3 separate regions of the Homo sapiens genome follow, and all the other regions are linked to region 1. The links are contacts of gene promoters, found by promoter capture Hi-C in blood cells and fetal thymus (Javierre and others, 2016). All regions are on one chromosome and are shown on one strand. Each heading gives the region's core, a stretch centred on a gene start or on the middle of the fragment in contact. The rest is flanking DNA. Distances are from core to core; before and after follow the strand shown.

Evidence for each region. The method cuts DNA at HindIII sites, captures the fragments that hold promoters and counts their contacts. A CHiCAGO score of 5 or more calls a contact.
Region 2: a contact is called between a fragment that was not itself captured here and the fragment with the promoter of FANCL in region 1, in 1 of 17 cell types (monocytes). The highest score is 5.8, in monocytes.
Region 3: a contact is called between a fragment that was not itself captured here and the fragment with the promoter of FANCL in region 1, in 1 of 17 cell types (activated CD4 T cells). The highest score is 5.2, in activated CD4 T cells.

What each region holds. Positions count from the first base shown.
Region 1 is chr2:58,240,038-58,242,588 of GRCh38, forward strand. It overlaps FANCL (FA complementation group L), which reads right to left and starts at 1,288. Exons shown (of 14, transcript NM_018062.4): 1 at 1,181-1,288. The coding sequence starts at 1,276. RefSeq lists a silencer at 886-935 and an enhancer at 1,476-1,635. The HindIII fragment of the contact is 7,787 bases long and covers 1-2,551 here.
Region 2 is chr2:58,002,488-58,005,038 of GRCh38, forward strand. It overlaps a transcript of VRK2 not described here. Among named protein-coding and RNA genes, the nearest start is that of VRK2, 43 kb to the right of the region's middle. The HindIII fragment of the contact is 1,285 bases long and covers 645-1,929 here.
Region 3 is chr2:58,020,307-58,022,857 of GRCh38, forward strand. It overlaps a transcript of VRK2 not described here. Among named protein-coding and RNA genes, the nearest start is that of VRK2, 25 kb to the right of the region's middle. The HindIII fragment of the contact is 4,178 bases long and covers 1-2,551 here.

The DNA.
Region 1 (2,551 bases), core at 38-2,537:
CCTAAAAGGCCTTAGCAGATATAGACATACATAACAGTATTTTGCCTAAAATTAGGTATAACATGCTTCCTGTAAAAAAAAAAAAAAAAAAGTAACTTAAAATTTTTCAACTTTTCTAAATGTTGTCTACAAGAGAATCATATTTTCAGCTAGGTAATTCAAGAAGAATACTTCTAATTGGAGAGGGAAAGGTGGATTAACTTTTTTCCATATGGAATAATGAATTTTTAACCTCTACTTTCTGTGATGGTCATATGGTAATTCCACATATACTCAAAGACTATGCGTGATGGTGGGGAAGTGGGCACAAGGTTGAGTGTAATGGTCAGAAAGGAAAAGTCTACACTCCTAACCTAAGGTATCCTGGTGCAATGTAAAGAGAAAAAAATCCAGGACTGAAATCACACAGCCTGCGTTTAAGGGATTCTGATGTGATCATCAGCAAATAACGTCTCCGGTTTCCCATACCTTGATTTCTTCAACTAGAAAATGGGAATGATGATTCTTTTAAAAATTTCTGCCTCAAAGGGCTGAGGATTAAGTGAACTATTTACCTGGAAAGCGCTTTGTAAACTTCAAAACCCTACACATGTGTTAGTATGTGTAATAAACTCCATATGAGAGGCCACTGGAATCAGCAAAGTTAATTAATTCCATTGCTGTCATGCTTCTCCTAGAAGATATTGTAACTGTGGGTGTACAGGTACATACGACTTGGCAAAGGGCCAAAATAAGGTTTTCTTCCCAAATGTTCTTTCTACAGGAAACACGAAAATAATTAGCCCAGATTCCCGAGTGAACTCATCAACATCCGTGGAGGTGGAGGGTGTTAAAATCGAGTTAAGGCAAAATTTACAAAAAAAAAATTAAAAAACAGTCAATTGCGGGACACTGAACGAAGAAGGAAGCCAAACTCGGGGAAGGGCTAGGGAGAGAGGAGGCGTGGCCCCAGCCCCGCTCCACGCCGCGCGCCTCCTCGCTCCCCATCCAGCGCGGCGACCACCGGGGTGGCGGCGACAGCGGCGCTTCTCAAACCTTTAGTCTCCCAAGAGCCGTTACGCGCCGCCCCTCTCAATCCCCACAAGTCTGGGCCCCTAACCTCCTAGCCCGTCACAGACTTCTCCGCGCAGCTACGCTGCAAGAGGCTCTCTTAGCTAGAAAGCAACCACTGGGCGGGTACCTGAGCCGAGATGAATCCCTCATACACGGTTTTCGACCGGTTCTGGGGCAGAAGCAGGGGGCACTGGCGCAACAGGCTCGCTTCCGTCACCGCCATGGCTCGAAGTCCGGAGAAACACAGAAAAGCTCTAGACCTGCTGGGTCCTGCACATGCGCAGTCCGCTGGCGCTCGGACGCCGCGGAGCGGAAACCCCAGCCTTGGCGGGAAGATCCTGGAGGATTCCGCGGGCGGAAATGAAGGTGAAGCGCAGGCCAGGCCAAGTGGCGCTCTGCGGGAGGCGACATCAGGGCTCCCCAACCGGTAGTGGGAGGGAAGATTGCCCTCAAGTCCACAGGACTGACTGACCAAGATCATTCTAGCCTCAATTGTCCCAGGAGCCCTTTCGATGATTCTGTTTTACTTTATTGAAAGACTGTTACAACTTTGGTGTTGCATTTCCTCCAGAATAAAATGACTTTTACAGCCTGGACGTTGTAGCACTCTGTCTTCTTTGCTGTTGTCCTCTCTCCCTTAACATACAGAATAATGTATTATTTTGTGTATAATTATTGTAATATAATGTATAACACATTGATTATATCATATATATTACAGTTCTGTGGCTTACTAAGTTCAATCAGATATATTTGAGGCACACACATGTATACGTATATGTGTATTGATTAGACTCAAGTCAACACTGGACTCAGTTCTGTGTACGGCACTCACAAATATATAAAGCAAAACATGAGTAAAGATTGCTGATGGACTTGAACTTAATTTTCCTCTGACAGCGCTTGCAATATGTTTTTCTAACTCAGGAATGTTATCCATCCCATCTTATTAAGAGTTGATTAAATAAGAAACCTACTAAAATATTTACCATATGATTATTTGATTTTCCAATTTTCCAATTTTCCAATGCATCACGTTTGAGCCCTACTATTTGAAAAACATCATTGTAATGTGCCAAAGGTTGAGCAAAGATTATTTCGTCCCCTACCCATCTTTATTGACCTCAAGACAGAATTTGACATCCTGAAGATTCTTAAAGTTTGACAAGAATTTGTCACAGCATTCTGGATGCTTACAGAAAAGAATGCTGGAGCAGTGGTTAGATATAAATTACATTAAAGCAGTGGTTCTCAAAACGTGATCCTAGAACCTAGCAACAGCATCACCTGGGAACTATGTAGAAATACAAGTTTTCACCGCTGATGGGGTTCAGGATATGCTACCCCAAAATATGGCCCCTTGACATTTGAGAAAACAACAAAACCTAAGATCACTCTCTGACCTTCTCCCATCCTTCTTCCCTGAGGCGGGTCATTGGATCCTCAATCCAGAGGTGCTCTTCCTATACCCACAGGAAAGAAATATCCTTATCTCTAA
Region 2 (2,551 bases), core at 37-2,536, 240 kb before region 1:
TAAAATCAGTATGTGTGAAGATAGGTAGTGGAGACCACACTTATTTTGAGAATGAAGAAAAATGGAGAGATCACCATAAGCTGAAACTGCAGAGGATTATTTTTTTTTAATCATATGGTTATATATCTTTATCCAAGCTCTAAAGGCTGAGCTGAATTTGCATAGGTGGAAGCTCAGAAACAAATATTTTAGGCGAGGGAAAAGAATTGGTCCAAATTTAAAGGTAGAAATGAGCATAGGAAATGTTGATGCTATCTTCAACAGGTGTTTTACAATATAAAGTTTGTAAATGTATTTTCACAGAAACAATGCCTCTTTTCAGACATTAGAATAATGCTGTTACAACTGTTAAAGCATGCTTCATTTTGTGTTTGGAAATTAATCTGCTAACATCACAAAATACATCATTTGCATGCAGACTTGTAGAAAGAAAATCAACACAGGGTCATGATGCCCATCAAGTAAATTCATGCCACTTATATACAATAGTGTTGGAAGTTAAATTGTCTAAAATTAGTTAATGATTCTAGTGTTAGTATGTACACTACAATTTAGGTAAATAAACTCAAATTCAAACAGGTATATTCTCAAAAAGTAAAATTTCCATCCTGATAATTGACCATAACAAACATATACATAAACTAAGCTTTACAATAATCAAAGCCTTAAGTAAATGTTACATTCTGTAACAGATATTTTGTACTAGAAAGCAGATCACAGGAGGGCTTATTGCCCTTCTTGCTTAAAAAAGAAAATCCAACCAGAAATTCAAATTTAAAATGACAAAATATGGGTTCCATATAATGTATCTTGACTGCTTACTATTATTTATTCCTTGGGTCTTCATAACAACTGACATAAAATCACATTGCAACATTTTTTTGTTTTTAAAACACCTGGCTTTAGCACCACCGGGAAAATTATTTTATGTTTTTTAAAATTCATGAATATGTATCAATATTATCTCTATTATTTACATTATCAGTTAATGTCTAATATAGAGTTTCCAGGGTTAGCGTATAAAAATATAAGATGCACAGTTAAATTTGAATTTCAGAAAACTGCAAATTATTTTTAGCATAATTATATTCCATGCAATATTTTGAGCATAGTTTGACTATAAAATTAGTTTATCTGAAATTTAACTGGATGTCCTCTACCTTTTCTGGCAATTTTAGCATAAAACAGTGCATTGCATTCTCAAAAGCAATTGTTTCTACAACCTTCTTTTCTTCTCATCATATACCATGGTGTCTTGTGGCCTGTGATTTCAGTTATAATTCTAATCCAGGCTGAATCAAGGCAGTTGGTATTTATACATTTTTCTCACACAAAATTATGTTTTCTAATAATTTACAAAATTTTAACTTTCTAATAATTGTTTACTATAACTTGTTTACTATAACTGTTAAATCTTGTCACTGAGGCCTTCCTATAGATTGAATTCTTAGTGTAATTTATACTTGCACTATTTAGAACAGATAGATACCATTCCTAATTCCAGACTGCCATTTTGCAAATATTAGGAAATGCTTTCTCTCTTTACTTTAATTCAAAGATTAATAGTTTTTGACTCTTTCTCAGAATCCTGTGTTTAATAGTAAGAATCAACTCTCTTCTTTTCTTCCTGCTCATTCTCAATCTCTTGCTCTTTTTTCTCTTTGTCTCTTTTTCTTTCACGCATACATACACGCATACAGCACACACACACAAACACACACATCCTGACCTACCACAACCTATGGGACTATAATATGCTTTTATAGTTCCTACCAAGGTAGTTCTTGAAGCCATAGAGGTACTAAGCCACTGTGTATTCTCTGAAGATGTGATATGATTTGTATGACTTTTCTAAAATGTATTACTGAGTGGTTCAGTGACTAAGTCTATTTCCTTCTTTCAGGACTTGTAAATGAGCCTCTTACCAAAAGCTTTTTATTAGAATGGCAATTGACTGTTTTCTAATCTGTTATTGCAATGATTTTAGCCTGTGAAACAAATCTAGGCATTATTCTGAAATAATGAGTGATGTTTGAAATAGAGAAGTTTAAACCTGAGCTTCAAGAAAAATAAAATAAATACATCCTTGGACAGCCATTTGTCATTTGTTTTGGATTTTGTTCATAAAATGGAATAATCTATTCCTTTAATATTCCTCAATAATGGTTAACTTTTTAAATTATGTCCTCTGCCAAAGAAAAGTATACTCAATACAAGGAATACAGATTTCCCTTTCATATATGTGGTAATTTTTCTCTACCTAACATTTTATCTGAGTACTTTCAATAAAACAGGCAAATAGGATAAATGTATTGTTTAGTGAAATATCAAAAAATCCTGAAGGTGATCAGGCATTATTGAGACATATACTAGTTCTTCCAGTATAGTGGAAAATCATTTGAAACTGTATTAAATAATCACCTATCAAATTCTCTGCAGTTACAGTGAATGTAGAGACTTACAGTCCAGTTAGCTGGTCATTATTCTACTTCCAGGGACCAGTTAGTGGCCCATTTACTCTAATTTCACACTTGAAAGGCAAAGAAATGTA
Region 3 (2,551 bases), core at 23-2,522, 220 kb before region 1:
GCAATCCTCCCACCTCAGCCTCCTACCTAACTCTGACTACAGGTGTGTACCACCATGTCTGGCTAATTTTTTAATATTTTTAGAGACAGAGTCTCAATATGTTTTGAAGGCTGGTCTTGAACTCCTGGCCTCAAGCAGTCTTCCTGCCTCAGCCTCCCAAGTCACTGGGATTACAGGTGCAAAGCACCATGCCCTGCTAAGATATACTGTTAAGTGCCAAATGAAGGTTATTGTGCCAAGTATGCTACTATTTGTGTTAAAAGCAGAAAAATACATGTTCTATGTAAGTGTATGTACATAAACATTTGCATGTATTATATGCTTAAATATGAATGTCTCCAGACAGGCTCATAAGAAATTGTGGATGCTTCTGGGAAACAGAGCTGGCATGAGACACTTTCCATTGTATAACTTTTTGTACAACTGAACATTTTTTAAAGTGCACATATTATCTTTTTCTAAAATAATAAAGTAAAATCTCCAAGTTAATTCTGATACCTGGAACTAAAAGCCATTGGTCCAGTATAAAACATTTGGACCTTGATAAATCCACTGCATAGTATAGCACATGTTCTTAACCTTTATTGTGCCATAGACCCCTTTGATAGTCTAGGAGAGTGTTTGGACCCATTCTCTATAAGTTTTTGATGTTTTAAAAATGGATAAAACTAAAAATATACAATTATAAAAGAAACAAAGTATGTTAAAATTGGTTTTTAAATATTAGACCTGGCAGTAGGTCTAATATCAGCCAGACTTTTGTAATACTGATGAATATGAATGATATTTTGGAAGAGCTAAACAGCTCTATTGTGATATGAAAACATCTTCAACTACTTTTTGTGGGAAAAAATCACACATAATGCTAATCCTAATGATTTGCTATATAATTACAGGAAATGCTAAATTCCAGTACAAATGAGTGAAAAATTAAAATGTGATTTTTTTTTCCCTCCTTTCCAAGCTCACAGATTGTTCCTAACATCTAACCAGGGACCCACTGAGTGTGTATGGACTCCAAATTAAGCACTCTGTATAAGAATGCACTGGGCTTACATCCCTTCATATCCAAAATAAAAAATGTAATACAGACCTTTATCATAGAGGTTTCAAATTAGTATTAAAACATTACTTTAGAATTTTTCTTAATCCCAATTTATACGTATGCTTGGACTAAATATTTATTGTCTCCAAGATACTGCAGACAACAAATTAGCCAAAAATACTATGACCGTTTATCTGGGTTTATACTACCATGAAATAAAAATATATCTAATCACTCAGTGAATCCCTTCCATATAGACATCTGTTAATATTAATTCTATCTTTTCTTTGTAATAGAACTTTCCCTCTTTTCCCCACCCCACCCCCAAATCAGTGGATTGAATTTTCAGCATTTTCTTTATTTTTCTGTTATGCAAAGGACTCAGCCAGTAGCATCCCCCATACCTTTCCACATTATCACAATTGGCTACCGAAACCTACATCTTCATTCCATTTTATATAGTATTAACTTTGTAAGCCTGGAAAATATGATTGAAAGAAATTGTTCAAGTTCCAATGTCCCTGACTTTTAAACACTGTTTCTTCCTTTTGTCTCAACCATCAAAAGTGTTAATACTTCATACCCTGTTTAGGTTGTAAAATGTCCACTTGAAACCCTTAATCAGTCAGAACGTTGGTAAATTATACCTTCATGCTATCCATATTGAGTACCCATTACTCCTGGACATAGCACATTAACTGACTCATTAGCTATTTCAAACCATATGGACTTGGGTTTGGGTGGGTCATTTTGATAATATCCTGAGGTGAGTTTCCTAATTATTGCAATTATGTGATCTCAATCATGAGGTCAGGCTCACAAAATAGTGTCAGTGCCTTTAGAATGGGTGTCACTGCACCCAGACAATGACTGAGATGAGCAACATGCTCTTTGGTTGTTATAAGTCCCTTGATACTAAAGAAAGTAATTACTTGAAAAGTTCTGTGAAACCGCCAGGAACAGCCTGTGAATTGAGTGAGCATGGAATGCTATAATGCTTGACAGTCATGGATACATTGCCTAGAGTTCACAGTGGGAAAATGTGAATGCCACAGTGCTGATGCTACGTAGACATTATGTTTCTAATGTAAATTTTGTATAGTGTTTTAAGCAACAAGGCAGATTTTGTAAAAGTTGAGGGGAGTAGGAAAAGAGCAAATGTAGGAAAAGAGTATGTTGTCATTGAGAAATTCTGTGATGGTGTCACAAAACGAATATGAGAGGTAAGAAATTCATATACTGTGCTGCCCACGATGGCTCACGCCTGCAACCCCAGCACTTTGGGAGGCCGAGGTGGGCAGATCACTTGAGCAGAGGAGTTTGAGACCAGCCCAGGCAACATGGCTAAACTTCATCTCTATAAAAATACAAAAATTAGCTAAGCATGGTGGCCCTTGCCTGTAGTCCCAGCTACTCAGGAGGCTGAGACTGAGGGATTGCTTGAACCCAGGAGGCAGAGGTTGCAGTGAGCCAAGATCACACCACTGCACTTCTGCCTGGGCAACA